5 separate regions of the Homo sapiens genome follow, and regions 1, 2, 4 and 5 are each linked to region 3. Evidence: promoter capture Hi-C in 16 types of primary human blood cells and fetal thymus (Javierre and others, 2016). All regions are on one chromosome and are shown on one strand. Each heading gives the region's core, a stretch centred on a gene start or on the middle of the fragment in contact. The rest is flanking DNA. Distances are from core to core; before and after follow the strand shown. Region 1 has its middle 93 kb from the start of LINC02285. Region 2 has its middle 130 kb from the start of LINC00524. Region 3 holds the start of RTL1 (retrotransposon Gag like 1). Region 4 has its middle 140 kb from the start of LINC02285. Region 5 has its middle 120 kb from the start of LINC02285.

What was found. Contacts are between HindIII fragments. The CHiCAGO score rates a contact against its expected background, and 5 or more counts as called.
Region 1: a fragment that was not itself captured here is called in contact with the fragment with the promoter of RTL1 in region 3 in 4 of 17 cell types (endothelial precursors, M1 macrophages, M0 macrophages and 1 more); the score reaches 6.5 in endothelial precursors.
Region 2: a fragment that was not itself captured here is called in contact with the fragment with the promoter of RTL1 in region 3 in 1 of 17 cell types (endothelial precursors); the score reaches 6.0 in endothelial precursors.
Region 4: a contact is called between a fragment that was not itself captured here and the fragment with the promoter of RTL1 in region 3, in 2 of 17 cell types (M1 macrophages and M2 macrophages). The highest score is 5.3, in M1 macrophages.
Region 5: a fragment that was not itself captured here is called in contact with the fragment with the promoter of RTL1 in region 3 in 7 of 17 cell types (M2 macrophages, megakaryocytes, M1 macrophages and 4 more); the score reaches 15.8 in M2 macrophages.

The regions. Positions count from the first base shown.
Region 1 is chr14:101,212,642-101,215,815 of GRCh38, reverse strand. No RefSeq gene overlaps it. Among named protein-coding and RNA genes, the nearest start is that of LINC02285, 93 kb to the right of the region's middle. The HindIII fragment of the contact is 2,353 bases long and covers 521-2,873 here.
Region 2 is chr14:101,274,414-101,277,357 of GRCh38, reverse strand. No RefSeq gene overlaps it. Among named protein-coding and RNA genes, the nearest start is that of LINC00524, 130 kb to the left of the region's middle. The HindIII fragment of the contact is 940 bases long and covers 872-1,811 here.
Region 3 is chr14:100,901,947-100,905,181 of GRCh38, reverse strand. RTL1 (retrotransposon Gag like 1) reads left to right here and starts at 1,460. Exons shown (of 4, transcript NM_001134888.3): 1 at 1,460-1,577; 2 at 1,796-1,891. All of the region lies in intron 5 of MEG8 (maternally expressed 8, small nucleolar RNA host gene), which reads right to left. The HindIII fragment of the contact is 7,837 bases long and covers 1-3,235 here.
Region 4 is chr14:101,255,697-101,258,795 of GRCh38, reverse strand. No RefSeq gene overlaps it. Among named protein-coding and RNA genes, the nearest start is that of LINC02285, 140 kb to the right of the region's middle. The HindIII fragment of the contact is 2,858 bases long and covers 191-3,048 here.
Region 5 is chr14:101,235,855-101,239,216 of GRCh38, reverse strand. No RefSeq gene overlaps it. Among named protein-coding and RNA genes, the nearest start is that of LINC02285, 120 kb to the right of the region's middle. RefSeq lists an enhancer at 2,568-3,191. The HindIII fragment of the contact is 3,583 bases long and covers 1-3,293 here.

The DNA of each region.
Region 1 (3,174 bases), core at 448-2,947, 310 kb before region 3:
TTAGTGAAGTTTTGACTTCACTGGGGTTGTCTTTTTGATCCAAGTGATGTTACTCTGAGACCAGTGAGTGAGCTCACGTCCTACCTGAGTGATACCCAGGGGAGCTCAGATGTCATTGCTGGCTTTCCAGCTTTGCTCAGGGAGGGATAGGGAGGACCAGGTCCTTCCAGAATAACCCCCTCACCCCCCAACATCCTGCCTTACAGGTGTCTTGACACTTGATACTCATGTGATACAACATGCAAGAGCTTTAGAAAGTGGAAAGAGGTGTCTTCATGCACACCTATCTTAGCGGCAGGAAAGGGGTCTTCATCATGTATCCCCCAGTGGCTTGGCACGTTGCGGTGGCTTTGCTGAGTGATTCAAAGAACTCTTCAGTGTCCAGGCCCAGATGTCTCCGTGGAGTGTCTGGAGACTTCATATTACGTGGGTGTATGAGTCAACTTGAGCTGCTGTAACAGAACACCTGAGACTGGGCAACTTAAACAGTGGAAGTTGATTTCTCACAGTTCTGGAAGCTTGAAAACCCAAGATCAAGGTGCCAGTGATTCAGTTCCTGGTGAGGGCTCTATTACTGGGTTGCAGACGACCATCTTCTTGCTGTGTTCTCACATGGTGGAGAGAGAGAGAGAGAGAGAGAGAGACAGAGAGAGAAAGAGAGAGAGAGAGAGGTCATAGCTCTTCTTATAAGGGCACTAATCCCATCATAAGGCCTCCACCCTCAATGACCTAATTACCTCCCAAAGGCCCCATCTCCACATACTTTCTTTTTTTATTTTATTTTTATTTTTATTTTTGGAGATGGAGTCTTGCTCTGTTGCCCAGTCTGGAGTGCAGTGGCACAATCTCGGCTCACTGCAAGTTCTGCCTCCCGGGTTCATGCCATTCTCCTGCCTCAGCCTCCTGAGTAGCTGGGACTATAGGTGCCTGCCACCGCGCCCAGCTAATTTTTTATTTTTATTTTTTGTATTTTTGGTATAGACAGGGTTTCACCGTGTTAGCCAGGATGGTCTCGATCTCCTGACCTTGTGATCCACCTGCCTCGGCCTCCCAAAGTGCTGGGATTACAGGCTTGAGCCACCGTGCCCGGCCCATCTCCACATACTTTCATATTGGGGGTTAGAATTTCAACATATAAATTTGGGGATGGCCTGACACAGTCCATAGCAGTGGGGGTAATACGGTTTGGCTGTGTCCCCACCCAAATCTCATCTTGCAGTATAGCTCCCATAATTCCCACATGTTGTGGGAGGGACCCAGTAGCAGATAATTGAATCATGGGGGTGGTTTCCCCTATACTGTTCTCGTGGTGGTGAATAAGTCTCATGAGATCTGATGGTTTTATAAGGGGTTTCCCCTTTTGGTTGGTTCTTTTTCTCTCTTGCCTGCCGCCCTGTAAGACATATCTTTCATCTTCCACCATGATTGTGAGGCTTCCCTAGCCGCGTGGAACTGTGGGTCCATTCAACTTCTTTTTCTTTAAAAATTACCTAGGTTTTAGCCAGAGAAATTAAGCAAAGCAATTCTACAAACATAGAAAAAATTATAAATTTGTTTATAAATTACCTAATACAGGGGTCAAGGGGTGAGGCAGTTCCCATGTAAGATTTACCCGCCCAGAGCTCCAGGAACACCAGGAGGGCAAGTGCTCTGATGCCTCAACCTTCAACTCCCTCTGGACCCCCCAAATCAACACTGTCCCAAGGACCAACCTTTCAAGCCACAGCTTGAATTCAGGCTTACTTGTGCCTACCTGCTCACCTTTAGGGCACTCATCCTCCCCCTCAGCTCAGGGTCAGCCAGCATGTGAACTGGGTACCTCTAGGCCTGGGATTTTCAACTTGTGGATGATAAAACATTAGGGAGTCCAGGGAGTCATTTTTGTGGCCCATGACCAACGTGTTGTTTAAAGAAATAAGAATAGAAAAATCAGAATGTGTTCCTAAAGCCGTAGCTGCTGTTATAGTACCTATAGCAGGAGCAGTAGCCTGATGAAATTTTTGTTGCATATGTAATGCAAGAGAATCAATGTGTCTGCTTAGACGCATGGGCCAGGTCCTTATTTCTAAGTGGGTTCTAGAGAAGCTGGAAAGCTGCTGCTTTGGGGGATGCTGAGAATAAAAAGATTCACACTATGTATTCAAGATGCCTCAGACAAGGCACAGAGAAGGATATTTGAGGCAAGAAAGCCCTCTGGGATCATCTTTGCTGAACATCTCTTTTTACAGCTATGGAAAAAGAGGCCAAGAGGAATCCAGAAAGTTGCCTCAGGCCATCCATGGGTTTCTGCCTCAGGCCTCCCCAGGGCTCCTCCTAGGAATATAGTAAGGGACAGGGTAAAGTCAGTGAAAACGGCAGAGTCAGGACCTCCAAAAAGTGTCTCCTTGAAAACAATGAGAATACCGGCAAAAATTGGCAGCATCAACGATTTCAAAGTTCTGGAAATTGACCATAGGCCTGCAACAATTCTAGGAGGATTTATTCAAGCAAACCGGCAGAATCTTACAAAGAACAAGCCTTGCAGCACTTTAACTTACTCTATCCCCATGCCACACTCCCCAGCCCTGTGGTAGACTTGAAAACCAATAACCCACTATCAGGGTGAAGACTAATAGCTTGGCAGCCGCCAGAAAGGAAAAATGGCTAGAAGCAACTTCAAAGCCTCATTAACAGAATTGTCATTACTTGAAGTCTGATGGTTCACTAAACCCACTTGCAAGGTTGTCTTTATTTGACCTGACTTGGAGTTCTCCTGGTACAAAAAGCATTTTCAGTGGGGCATTTATTGGAAACATTTATAGGCAAATGTTTAGCTTCATGGTAACCAAAGCAGTGGGTAAGAGTTTGCGAAACAATAGGGTAGCCAACAAGCTTCAAATTACAAAGCTGGGGAATGACACGTCTACAGGAGCTGCGAACCAACATCTTTCCAGGAATCCAGAAGGCCATGTGCATGTTCAGGAAAGGCCTGAGCTCTCACCTCTACCTCTGGCTGGTCTTGAGGCTCTACAGAAGTAAGAAGTAAAGGCTCAGCACTTTGAGAGGCCAAGGCCGGGGATCACCTGAGGTCAACAATTTGAGACCAGCTTGGCCAACATGGTGAAACCCCGTCTCTACTGAAAATACAAAAATTGTCTGGGCCTGGTGGCAGGCACCTGTAATCCCAGCTACTCG
Region 2 (2,944 bases), core at 92-2,591, 370 kb before region 3:
CAGGGAACTCAATTCCATGATGTTCTTGAGATCCTGAGGTCCCTAGCCAGCTTTCTTTCTTCTTTTCACTTTTTTGTATTTCTTATGTTTGTTTTATATATAACGTCCAAGGCATTTAGCTGTACACGCCAATTCCATGGTGTTCTTGAGATCCTGAGGTCCCTAGCCAGCTTTCTTTCTTCTTTTCACTTTTTTGTATTTCTTATGTTTGTTTTATATATAACGTCCAAGGCATTTAGCTGTACTTAGCAAGCGTGAATAGAAAAAGTATCTACTCCATCTTCCAGAAGTAGAAGCCGTCTACTGTATTTAATAAATCAAATGATACAGTGTTATAATTTTTGCCTTAGACAGTCTTGCTGGTGTTTAAAAAACATTAAGCATGTGTTTACTTTTGTGTATGTGTGTACTCAGTCTTTCATAGTATCCACATATTTACCATTTCCAGCGTTCTTCCTTTCTTCCTGTAGATACATTTCCTGTTAGCCTGAGGCACTTCCTTTACTCATTCTTATAGAGCAGACCTTCTAGAAACTCATTCTTTTTGTTTGTCTGAGAATGTTTTTATTGCTCATTCAATTTTGAAGGATTTACTAGCTATAGAATTTTTGGTTGAGTTTTTTTCTTTTGCACATTGAATGGCATTTGACTGTCTTCTTGTTATCATTAATTCTGATAAGAAGTCAGCCATTAATCACTTCTCCCTGTACATGATCAGTTGTTCTTTATTTTCTGCTTTTCAGAGTTTATCTTTGTTTCTTTATAAGCATTTTGGAATTCCATGAGAAACCCACAAGGGCCACATCCCAGAATCAATGGCTACATTCCAGGACTAAGGCATGAATATAAATGGACCTGCCCTGACAAAGCTTAAAACCACGTCTCTGCAGGAGTCAGGTGATCCACAAGTTACTTATATCAACATTCTTCACAGGAAGACACAGAATCAAAAGGTCTGAAATGTATCATTCATGATGTTCAGCATACAATAAAAAATTAGTAGGCATGCAAAAAGTAGAAACGTTTGACCTATCAAGAGAAAAAAATAGTTTGTTCTTAATAAAAGTAGGCTGCATTAACAATCCAGATCTTAGAATTAGAGAGCGATCACCTTAAAATACCTATTATAACATGTAAGTAATTCACAGGTAAAGATGAATATACAAATGCTTTATTAAACTTATAGTGAGGTTATGTCACAAACTCAGTGAGTTAAAAATACTATAAGTCAAAAATGCACTTAATACTCTTATAAACCAAACCCATCATAAAGTAAAACAAAAACAAAAACAAACCCATAAGTTGAATCATTGTAAGTTGGGGACTGTCTGTAATAGGTGAAGAGATGAGGAATTTTAAGAGAGATATAGAAATCATAAATAAAGAATTAATGTACATCACTATCTGAAGTCAAGTATTTATTGGATAGGATTAACTTGATATTGGATATATTGTGGAGAGAAAATGATCAGCAAAAATGAAGAAATGTCAAAAGAATTTCCTAAACCAAAGCACAGAGAGAATTTTAAAAGGCAAAAACAAGGAATAGAGAGAGCCTCAGTGACCAATGGAACACTATTAAACAGTCTATTATATGTGGAATCAGAAGCTCAGAAGTACGTAAGAGAGAAGAAGCAAGAAAAAAAATTGAAGAAATAGTTGCCAAAACTTTCCCAAATTTTATTAAAAACATCCAGCCACTGATCTAAAATCCTCTGAGAAACTCAAGCAGGATAAACACAAAGAAAACCACAAGTAAGCATATTGGAGTGTGGCACAAGTTTACTCTTTGACTTTCAGCTGCTGAAGCTTAAAGATAAAAAGGAAAAAACAAAGACACGTGAAATATAGGGAAACAATGCTACAATGATGCTGTTCTCCTCATAAGAAACAAGGTAAGCCAGAAGGCAACAAAAAAGTATCTGTAAAATACGGAAAGAAAGAAACATTCAACATAGAATATCCTTTAAAGATGAAGATAAAATAACACACTGTCATTAAATTGAAGTGAAAGAACTGGCAGCAGATATGCATTATAAGGAATGCTAAAGAAAGTTCTTTAGGATGAAGGTGTGTAAGACTTGATAGAAACACACCTGTAGGCTGGGCGCAGTGGCTCATGACTAAAATCCCAACACTTTGGGAGGCTGAGGCGGGTGAATCACTTGAGGTCAGGAGTTCAATACCAGCCTGGCCAACATGGTGAAACCCCATCTCTACTGATAATACAAAAATTAGCCAGGCGTGGTGGCGGGTGCCTGTAGTCCTGGCTACTTGGGAGGCTGAGGCTGGAGAATCGCTTGAACCTGGGAGGTAGAGGTTGCAGTGAGCCAAGATTGTGCCATTGCACTCCAGCCTGTGCGACAGAGCCAGATTCTGTCTCTAAGAAAAGAAAAGAAAAGAAAAGGAAAGAAAAGGAAAGAAAAGGAAAGAAACACACCTGTAGAAGAGGAAATGAAGAGCACTGAAATGGTGAGTATATAGTAAATAGACTATTTTTTCCTTAATTTCTTTAAAGTAAGTGGTTGTTTATATAACAATGTAATGTGGAGTTTATTACATGTAGAAATAAAATATATACAACAATTGCAAAGGGGATGGGAGAGCATTAAGTTAAAATATACTATCGTAAGATTCTTCTATATCAAGTGGTATAATATTAATTCAAGGTAAATGTGACAACTTGATGCATGTTGTAATCCTTAAAGTAACCACTAAAAGAATAATGATTAAAATATTAAGAATCATGCAAAGAGATATGCCTAAATATCCAAAAGAGGCGATTCATCAGTTGCTAAAATGATGACTTGATTTGGCAGGAAAGGAGGAACAAAGTAAAAAGAACAAAAAGGGAAAATTGAAAACAAATAGCATGATGATTTATTTAAACCCAACTATATTAGTAGTTACGTTAGATGTAAATGGTTTCTAACAGAGATGAAAA
Region 3 (3,235 bases), core at 211-2,710:
CTGTCTAGCTTTCAAATGCCTTTTTTTTTTTTTTTGGCTTTTTTATTTCTTTTGGAAAGATAAGAGTTGATGCTTTTACCCTAAAACTGTGTGCCAAGCCGCTCTGGCTATCCTCAGCCCCACTCTTCCCCTATCTCTGTAGCCCTCCTTTCCGTCCTTCATAGGCTGCAAGCTGACTGGCGCCCGACCCCAGGTCCACACCCACCTCCCTCTACCCCCTGGTCCATGCACCACTCCCGGCCTCCTCCCCCACTCTTCTCTTTCTGGCCCCGCTGCAGAGTCTCGGGCCCCTCGGCTTCCTGGGCGCCTGGCCACCACGCAGCGCCTGGAAGTGCTCCCTCCCTCATCTCTCGTTCCCCACTTTGGAAAGCCGGCCACCGGACAGGACAGCTCCCGGGACAGCTCCCGCAGCCTGCTGCATTGCAGCGCAGCCGTCTGTGAGGGAGGGGCGCAACCTGCAGCCCCCGCCCCCCGCCCCGACCACCCCCGCCCAGCAGCCCCCAGCCCCGGCACGGCCGGCTCCCCCGCCGCACCGCACGCATCTGTCGCAGTTAAAAGCGCCGCTGCCAGAGCAAAAGCGCCGGTCCCTCTTGACTGTCCCCCTCCTCACTTTTCGGGCTCAGAAATGTGGCCCAGGCAGCCCCCTTGTGGCACGTGGGGGCGCCACAGACTCTTGGCTGGTGTCTGAAGAATTCAGACTGTCTGATTCCACCGCACCGTGAGTTGGCACAAATCTTCGGTGGCCCAACTCCTACCCGATGCAGAACTCTGCTCAGCGGCCTCTCTGAGTGGGGGGCACCTCTCCCCTCCCCTCTCCCCGTCCACACCTCTCCCTTCTCCCTCCAGGGAGGAAGCGAAGGAACTCTCCTGTTGAATATTGCTCTGACAAGCAGACAGGTGTCTGGCAAACGTGATTGGGGTGGTGGGGGAAGGGGGGGGCCAGGAGGGTGGTGGGAATGGGGGCTTTTCTCGAAATGACGTTTGGTTTCCATCTCTTATCTCACAGATGGGAAACCGAGGTGCGGGGAGGGCCATAGTCCCTGTCTGTGTCAGAGTCAAGGCTGGAGATCCTCCTCCAAGTCCAGCCTGGGGCATTTCCCTGAGGTGCCGGGGCACCCTTAAGACGTACCCCTCTTCCCCCTCCCACTTGTCCAGCCCCTCCAGATCTGGTTCTCCCCGTCCGGAAGCCCTGGAGGGCCCCTGGATGTTCTCTGTCCTCTCTAACTCACTGTCCACACAAACAAGCCCAGCCCCCTCCGTCTCTATCTGCAATCTACTTGCAGACAGGCAGGGCCCTCTCCACATCAGGTTAATAATGCCATTTTCATAAGCCTCTGCCCATAGGTGCTACCACCTAATTTTGAATCTGCCCTTCAAACGGATTGGGCCACAGAGGAGCTGGGATCTCAAGCACCGCTGGGAGGTGCTTATAACTAATCAATCCGTCCCCTGCCCACCCACACCCCCCCAGCACTCGGCACAGCCTCGCTGAGCAGCCTTCAGCAGCAGGGTGTGGTGGGGAGCCTCGGAGAGTCTGGGGTTCCATCCTGGCCCAGCCTCACACCAGCTGAGAGACGGTGAGTATAGGACTTTGCCTTTCTGTGCCTCAGTTTCCTCATCAATCTAATGGGGCTCATGAGACCAGTGTGCAGGGTTATTGCCCGGGTGAGTTCTTTGCAGACAGCCCAGTTCGGGACTTGGCTCCAAGACGGGGCTCCATAAATCTCCATGCCTGCACCCCCTCTTGATCACCTCAATTTCCAGTGTCTTATTCCCTGTTTGTTTCCCCCACCAGACCGACTGAGCTTCGAGGACAGGAAGCCACCGGCATCACTAAGCCACCGGCATCACTTCATCCCCAGCCTCACGCTTGGGACTGGGCCCGGGGAAGGTAGGTACACTGTGGTGGCTTGGAGAATGAGTGCATGGATGGATGTCTGTCCCATAGTCTATGGGATGCCCGGACCCCGCTGAGTTTCTCCTCCCCAGACCCCTGTCTAAGCTGGCCCTTCAAGGAAGCCGCCGGGAAAAACTGTTCCTTTATGCCTTCATGCTTTACCCCTCGTGCTGTTATATACAATGCAAATTCTCGGTCTATTAAATGCAGATGTGGGCTCTGCATGTCATTTATGCTGCCTGCTGCATCTACTGTGAGTTCCACAGGCCGGGGGCTGCCTCCGGCTGACTTGATTTGTGCGATTAAGCCAGCAGAGGGGACTCTGCCAGGAGAGGTTCCCGTTTGTATTGGGAGCAGGGTCTTGAAAGGCCAGGCTGTTTTCTCTCTTGCGACACTTGTTACATACCTCTCTCTCCCTCCCTGGGTCCCACCGTCTACTCCACAAGCATTTATGAAGTGTCTGATGTGTGCAAGCCTACACTTATCTCATTTAGTCCTCACTTCACGCCAGTGACGGAGAAACTCTCATCTCCATTTCACAGGGGAAAAGCCGAGTCTGAAAAGTAAAGGGAATTGTCTTGCAGCTAGAGAGCAGGGAGTCAAGCCGGTCTGCCTGGCTCGGGAGCCCCCAGCCCTGCTGTGGCTGCCTACTGCTGCTGCTGCTGCTGCTGCTGCTACTGCAGGGCTGACCAGGGCTGGCCGGGAGGCCAGCAGCTCCTGCAGAAAAGGCAGGGGGCTGCATACAGAGCGTTCTCCCTAGCAACTGGAAAAGGGGCCATAGAAAACCCAAGAGGGCTGAGAAGCCGCTCAACAGATAGACATGGAGCAGCTGGCCCCAGGAGGGGAGCACCACGCCCTCCCCTGGGCTTTTAGCAGAACAGCAGGGCAAAGGGCTCTGTCCCAGGTCTAAAAGAACAGAGACAGAGGTGTTAGGACAGGTGTAGAGGCGCCCAATCCTGTTCCCACCATTGGTGGGGGTATTGCCATTCAGCACAGAAAGGAGAGGACTGAAAAGAGAGGGAGCCCACAGCCTGCAGAGATCGGAGGGCAGAGGGGGCAAGGGGGCTGCTGCACAGCCGAGGAGGCAGATGCAAAAGGCAGGGGAGGGCTCAGCAAAGCAGCTCTGCGTGCGAGCCCTGAGCAGGCTGCCTGGGGAGAGAGGGAGCTCCCTGTTACAGGAGGCATCCGAGGGGAGAGAGGCAGGCCAGTGCTTGGCTGAGAAGGCTGCAGCACGGTTTCCTGCCCAGGCTGGCAGCCCACATGTTTAGGCCTTTGAGAAGCTCCCACAGCACCAACTCCTGAGCAGGCAAGCGGGCAAGTGAGCGAGGTGGCCAGAGG
Region 4 (3,099 bases), core at 370-2,869, 350 kb before region 3:
TCTAGGAGGGTAAGAACAATTTGACATTAGAAATTCTATGAATTTATCTACCATATTATCGGACTAACAGAGCAAAGTAACTCTTGACAGATGCCGAAAAGGATTTGATGAAGTTCAACGTCTCTTTCTGATTTTTTAAATTTCTCAGAAAACTCTGAATGGAACTGAATATCCTTAATGCAATAAAGCTTTGCATATTAAAAACTTTGTAGAAAACCTACTACTCTGCAGATGAACTTTAATTCATTCTCTTTAATGTTGGAAACAGGACAAGCGGAAGCACCGCAGCTATTCAACCTAACACGAGAGGCTCTGGCTAGTGCCATAAGATGAGAAAATGAAAAGATAGGAAGAGAAGAGGGAGGGAAGAGACGCAGCTGTCATCACACGCAGATTATATATCATCTACATAGAAACCCAACAGAATGAACAGAAAATTGATTGGAACTAATAATAGAGTTTAGCAAGATTGCTGAATACAAGATCAACTTACTAAAATTAGTGGCTTTCCCTACACCAGCATTAACCAATTAGAAATATAATAGAAAAAGAGATACATTCACAAGAGGAACCCAAATGATGAAGTATCTAGAAATTAAGCCAGAAATAAATGCAGAAAACCTTTATAGAGGAAAAAAAAATTAAAATTTTAAAAAAACGTAAAGGACATAAAAGAAGACATAAAAATGGAGAGATGAAATTGAAAACATCAAAAGGACATAAAAGAAAACATGAACAAATGGAGAGATAGACCATTTTTATGGATGCTTTAAGTTGTAAAAATGTCAAATCTTCCCACATTAATCTATAAATTTCATGTAATTTTGTTCAAAATACCAGCTGGATTTTTTTGAGGGACTTGACAAACTCATTCTAAAATATATATAAGCCATAATGTCCACAAATTGCTAAGTCTATTTTGACAAAGAAGAGCACATGTTTTGGGGGTGAGGAGTGGACTTACCCTGCATGATCTGGAGACGTCTTGCAAAGCCAGTGCCTAGCTCGGCTGGCTCTCTGCGGTCAGGCAGGGCCAGGGATGCCTCATACGGCAGGTGTTGGCCACCTCCATCCTAGGTGGTTCAGGACCCCAGGGATTTATTGTACCCTATGTGATGGCCCCAGGGAAGAACACGTTTCCCAGCCCATTCATATGCTGGCTGGATTGAGCTCCTTGTGGCTGTAGGGATGAGGCCCTCATTCCTTGCTGACCCTCAGCTCCTGGAGGTCGCCTGCATTCCTGCCAGGTGGCCCCTTCATCTTCAAAACCCAAAAGCCAAACATGGGGATGCTTCCTCTCATCTGAGCCCTCTCACACCTCAAATGTCTTTCAGGGAGGGCCCAGGGCTCACCTGATGCAGGCTCCAGGGATTGTCTCCTTTTTTTATTAACTCCAAGTCACCCGATTAGTCACCTAATCAAAGGAGGATACCCCTCCAGAGGTCACAGGGGGCCCTTGCGCTCAAGGAGAAGAGATCATATGCATTCTAGGGGGCATCTTAGAATTCCACTTACCACATCATAGTAATGAAAACAGAATCGAGGGCTTAAAGCCGTATCCTTCACACAGGAAACATAGTGTGTGATAGAGGTGGAGTCACCAGCCAGAGGGGAGGGGATACATTATTTTATTGTCTATGTAGGGAAAACTGACTCACTGTACAGAGAGAGAATTAGATTGATTTCCTAACACCTCATACCACACACATAGAGAGTCTGGATGGGTTAAATATAAATGGATTAAAATACTATGTGTGAGGATAAAACTATAATATTAATTAGAAGTGTGCAGAATACCCTGTGATTTTCAGGTGGAGGCGAGGCTTCTTAAATAGGGTCTTTGACAAAGCACAGCCTATAGAATAAAATGCTAATGGGGTTGACTAAGTCAGAATTAAATATTTCATCCGCAGAAAATAGACTCAAAGTTAATGGAGGGCTACGGACTGTAATATGCTATTTACAACGCTGGCATTGATAAAGGATTACTATCTAGAACATACAAGGGACTGTCAGAAATCAATGAGGAAGAGATGGGAGACCTGCAGAAAACAGTGGGCAATTCGGAGAAGGGAAATCTGAAAAGCTAACAAGTACGTGAAGTGATACTCAATTTCAATAGCAATTTGGGAGGGAGATGCAAAAATAATAAGATACCAATTTTGCAAAAAACAAAACATTGTTGGGTAACACTAATGTTGACCGAGCTGTGAGGAAACAGGAGCCTAACTCATTGTTGCTGGGAGCAGCTGATAGTGATCTGGCTGCACTTAACACGTTACTTTGTGTGGCTCTTGACTCAACAATCCCCCTCCTTAAAACATGCCCCTGAGAAACTCAAGCACGGATCCAGGGGCCAGGGGACACCAAAGGCATCATTGTCCCAGCTCCTTTTGCAGAGATGACAACTTAAGTGTCCACCCCCGGGGCATGGGTAAGTACAATGAAGATGCACAGTGCAGAATTCCGTGAAATTGTCAAAATCCCTGAACTAGAAGTCTACACAGCCACAAGCAGCACAGACAGATTTTTAAGGCATATTGTTGAATGAAAAAAGTGAGAAGCAGGAGCTCGATGGCACAACAAAACATACTCACATTGGAAGCAGTACTTACACACAAAAACAAGCTACATGTGTTTCAAAGTTAAACACCCATTCAAGAACATATATGAAACCTTCCCACGAGTATGGTGGGGATGAGGATGGGGAACAGAAGGTGAGAATTGGTGACATAAAATATGATAGGCAATTGGTAATGTTGTGCCATAGAGTAAGGAGTAGGGTGAATTCAGCTGTCTGAACTTAAGTGCACATCTCAAACATATATAAATAAAGGATATGTGATGGTTGGTCTCCACGGACGCTGCTCCTTCCAGAGGTCTGGGCGACTGCTCTGAGAAAGCCACCTCTGCGTCCCTAACCCTCAGCTGTGTCCCCGTGGGCATTCCTCCATGCTGGAACTAGCAGGCTGGGTGCAGTTCCCTCCCAGAGGACTCTACGGAAAGGACCTTCCCTGGGGGGCGAGAGGAAGGTGGGGGAGGCAAGCTTCCAGCCTGTGGCAGGTGGTTATATTGTTCCAACTATCTGCTGTTCCTCTC
Region 5 (3,362 bases), core at 253-2,752, 330 kb before region 3:
GGGCCAGCAGCGCCTGGCAGAAGGGCTGAGGTCACAGACACTGCCTTCTTCCTGATAAGTTTCTGAGAAACACAGGTATGTGATGGGATGAGTCTGCAGCAGGCTGGGCTTCCTGGTACAGCCAACAGGATGGAGCTGTCCCGCTCTCATCGTCAGAGGAGCTTCGTAGGTGCTGCTTGTTGAGATCATGGTGGTTTGATCCACAGGAAGGATGCAATGCATCTATTTGTACGAGTGTGTCTTCATTCATCCCTTTGTTCATTCAAGAAATATGCGGGGACCTTCCTGCCTGCTCCAGGGAATAAAAAATAAATGCGAAAATCTTCCTGCCCTCCTGGAACTCACAGTCTAAGGAAAGAGACATACTGGCAGGCCACCTGTTACAATGTAGCCCCTTTGTTTATTGATGGATTCATTCATTCATCAAGTACCTCTTGCAAGCTGTTTATGTGGTAGGTACCTGGGTGCTCACCAGGGATGAGTCCACAAGAAGCAGTTAGTTAAAATGTCAGACGTTGCCTGTTGAGTGGTGAGCAGACATAAACCTTTTGAACAATGTGAAAATAGCTCCTCAAGAATCATTTGTTGAGAAAAGACTCTTAGGCCTAAAAGGTTCATTTGAAACCTTATATTTGATAACCACATATCAGATGCAGCCAACAGTATTTGCTGCTTCTTGCATCCATTGATCACTCACTGGGCACCCAGTAGGCACCAGAGGAGTACAGGCATGACAGAGACACAGCCCCAACTTCCAACAGCTCGTGGGTGGTTTGGGAAGAAGAAAGGTCAGAGCCCAGCGTGAGACCCATCTCTCACCCACCTGATCAGCACACAGCAAGTGCCTGGACTTCTTCTGGGACTTCTGGGCTCTACCTGGAGTTCTCTGCCTCTTCAGGGACCACCCCATTTGCTTGATAATTGAGTGACTCCTGGTAGCCTCCCCCATCCCATTGCCTCACAGTACTTCTGAGGGCTGGAGACAGTTTCTTTCTACAGATGAGAGCACCAAGACCCTCTGAGGAACGGTCACCTTGAAGGAGTGGCCAGCCTCCTCTGAGACCGGGGTGGCAGGAGGCACGCTTGGAGACCCACTTTCACTGGGTGGCCTGGTCCTTAGGACCAGCCCATTTCTGCCCTTTGAACATCAGCAGATTCATTTTAGGGCACTTGGTCCTTGGGGTTGGCTCTTGCTGCAAAGGCACCATTTTCTCCATTTAGAAACTTGGTCCTTTTGGAAGCTGGAACATATCATTAATTTATTCATTAGTTTTAAAGATTTCAAAACAGACTTTCTCAGTGAAAAAAAATGTGGAGACATGTAATCCCAGCACTTTGGGAGGCCGAGGAGGGCGGATCACGAGGTCAGGAGATCGAGACCACCCTGGCTAACATGGTGAAACTCCGTCTCTACTAAAAAAAAAGACAAAATATTAGCTGGGCGTGGTGGCTGGTGCCTGTAGTCCCAGCTACTTGGGAGGCTGAGGCAGGAGAATGGTGTGAACCCGGGAGGCAGAGCTTGCATTGAGCCAAGATCGCGCCACTGCACTCCAGCCTGGAAAAAAAAAAATGTGGAGGCAGAGGAGGGCCCTGCAGGAAGCTGGAGCTTTGTCCTGTGGAGGATGGGCGCTGAGTGTCCAGGCTGGGGCCTTAGCACTTGCAGGAGGCGGCGGCGGCGTTGGACATGTGTTCCTGCCTGGCAGAGACCTGGGGACACGGAGCTGAGGGGTCCAGGCAGGGGTGGCCAGTGCTCTGAAATCAGCCAAGTTTGCCTAAAAAGAAACCGAGGAGTGTGGAAGTTAGGACTTGTGTCTCCTCCAGATACCACCTGGGAAGGAGGCCAGGGGAGGCGGAGTCCCCTTACCTGACAGCTGCTTTGTGAGACTAGGCACTGTGTGCCCATGGGCATGGATGGGGCTGGCCGGTGGAGAGGGCATCTGGAGCAGGCCACAGCACCCATGAGGTCTTGGGAGCAGGACACACTGGGCCAGAGTGGGTGGGAGGGAGACCACGCAAAGGTTCTGCTCAGCCAACCCCGCAGCGAGTGTTTCTGTACAACAGAGAGGCTGTTTTAATTCAGACTCTAAGAAGGATGGACTCTGCCCATCACAGGGGGACTCGGACCCCTTCTTGGGGACCCCATGCTGAGTCCGCAGCCCCCAAGACCAGCATCAAGTCCTCAGGGCCTGGCACTCACCTACCACCAGCAGTGGGAAGGAGCTGCAGAATTCAGTGACAGGTCACACATCCACTGCTTACCTGCCTGGGCTGAGACCAATGCCTTTGGGATGCACCCTGGGAGGGCCTGAGGACAAAGGCAGAAGATAAGGTCCACCATCAGCGATGGAGGCAGGCAAGGATCTGGCACACTCCACAACTTCCTCCTGCCCTGCTGGTAACGGGCCCTCAGAGGCACCTGAATGAGGGAAGGTGGGCCTGGCATGTGTGCCAGGACCCTGGGAGGCCGTCCAGTAGACGGAGGCCATGAATGCGACTGCAGCTGAACTTTGAGCCGATAGGCACATTCTTTTGAGTTAACAACCCCAGTGGGGTGTTTTCATCTGCGGGACCCCGGGCAGTGGGCTGTGCAAGCCCAGCTGCTAGAGTCCATCTGAAGTGGGGAGCTGGCAGAGGCAGCCCGAGATGGACAGACCCCATCACCTGAGATGGGCGTCCCTCAGGGGAGCAAGGCACAGCCCTGTGCCTGGGAAAGAGAAAATCCACCGGGAACCTGGAGGAGAGACAGTGCTGTTGTTGTCAGGCTCAGCAAATAAAAACACAGAACACTCTGTTACATTGGAATTTCAGACCAACAATAAATAACGTCTTCATATAAGCGTATCTCAAATGTTGCATCTTTGTCAGACATTCCAACGTAACTGGGCATTGTTTTTCTTTTTTTTCAGATATTTCATCCGGAAATTGTGTAAGGAAGACGAGTTCTGACAATGCTATGAGGCTGCCGTTTGGGGGGATTCTGTGGTGGGAGGACAGCCCTGCCCGACCTCCTGAGGGCCCCCCACCCATCACCATGGCCCTGAGAGGACCTCTGTAACTTCCGCTCACAAGCACTTTTCTCTCCCAGGCCCACTCTCTTGACCAAAATAGAGACTCTTGAAAATGCGTCTGGCAGGGACAGGGGGATGGGTATTGGCCCAGCCCCTCGCTTTCCTGGCCTGAGTCCTCATTGGCCCAGAAAGGACTCGTTCTTCTCTTTCCTTTCCTCCCAAGAACGGGAAAGCCCGGGTGGCTGGCTCCAGCAGCAGGACACGCAGCTCAATCCTGCAGAAGCTTTGAGGATCCCCTCTGTAGGGGGTTCTGAGGGTACATTCAGGGCAGCTCCCAGACCCTGCTGATCAGGT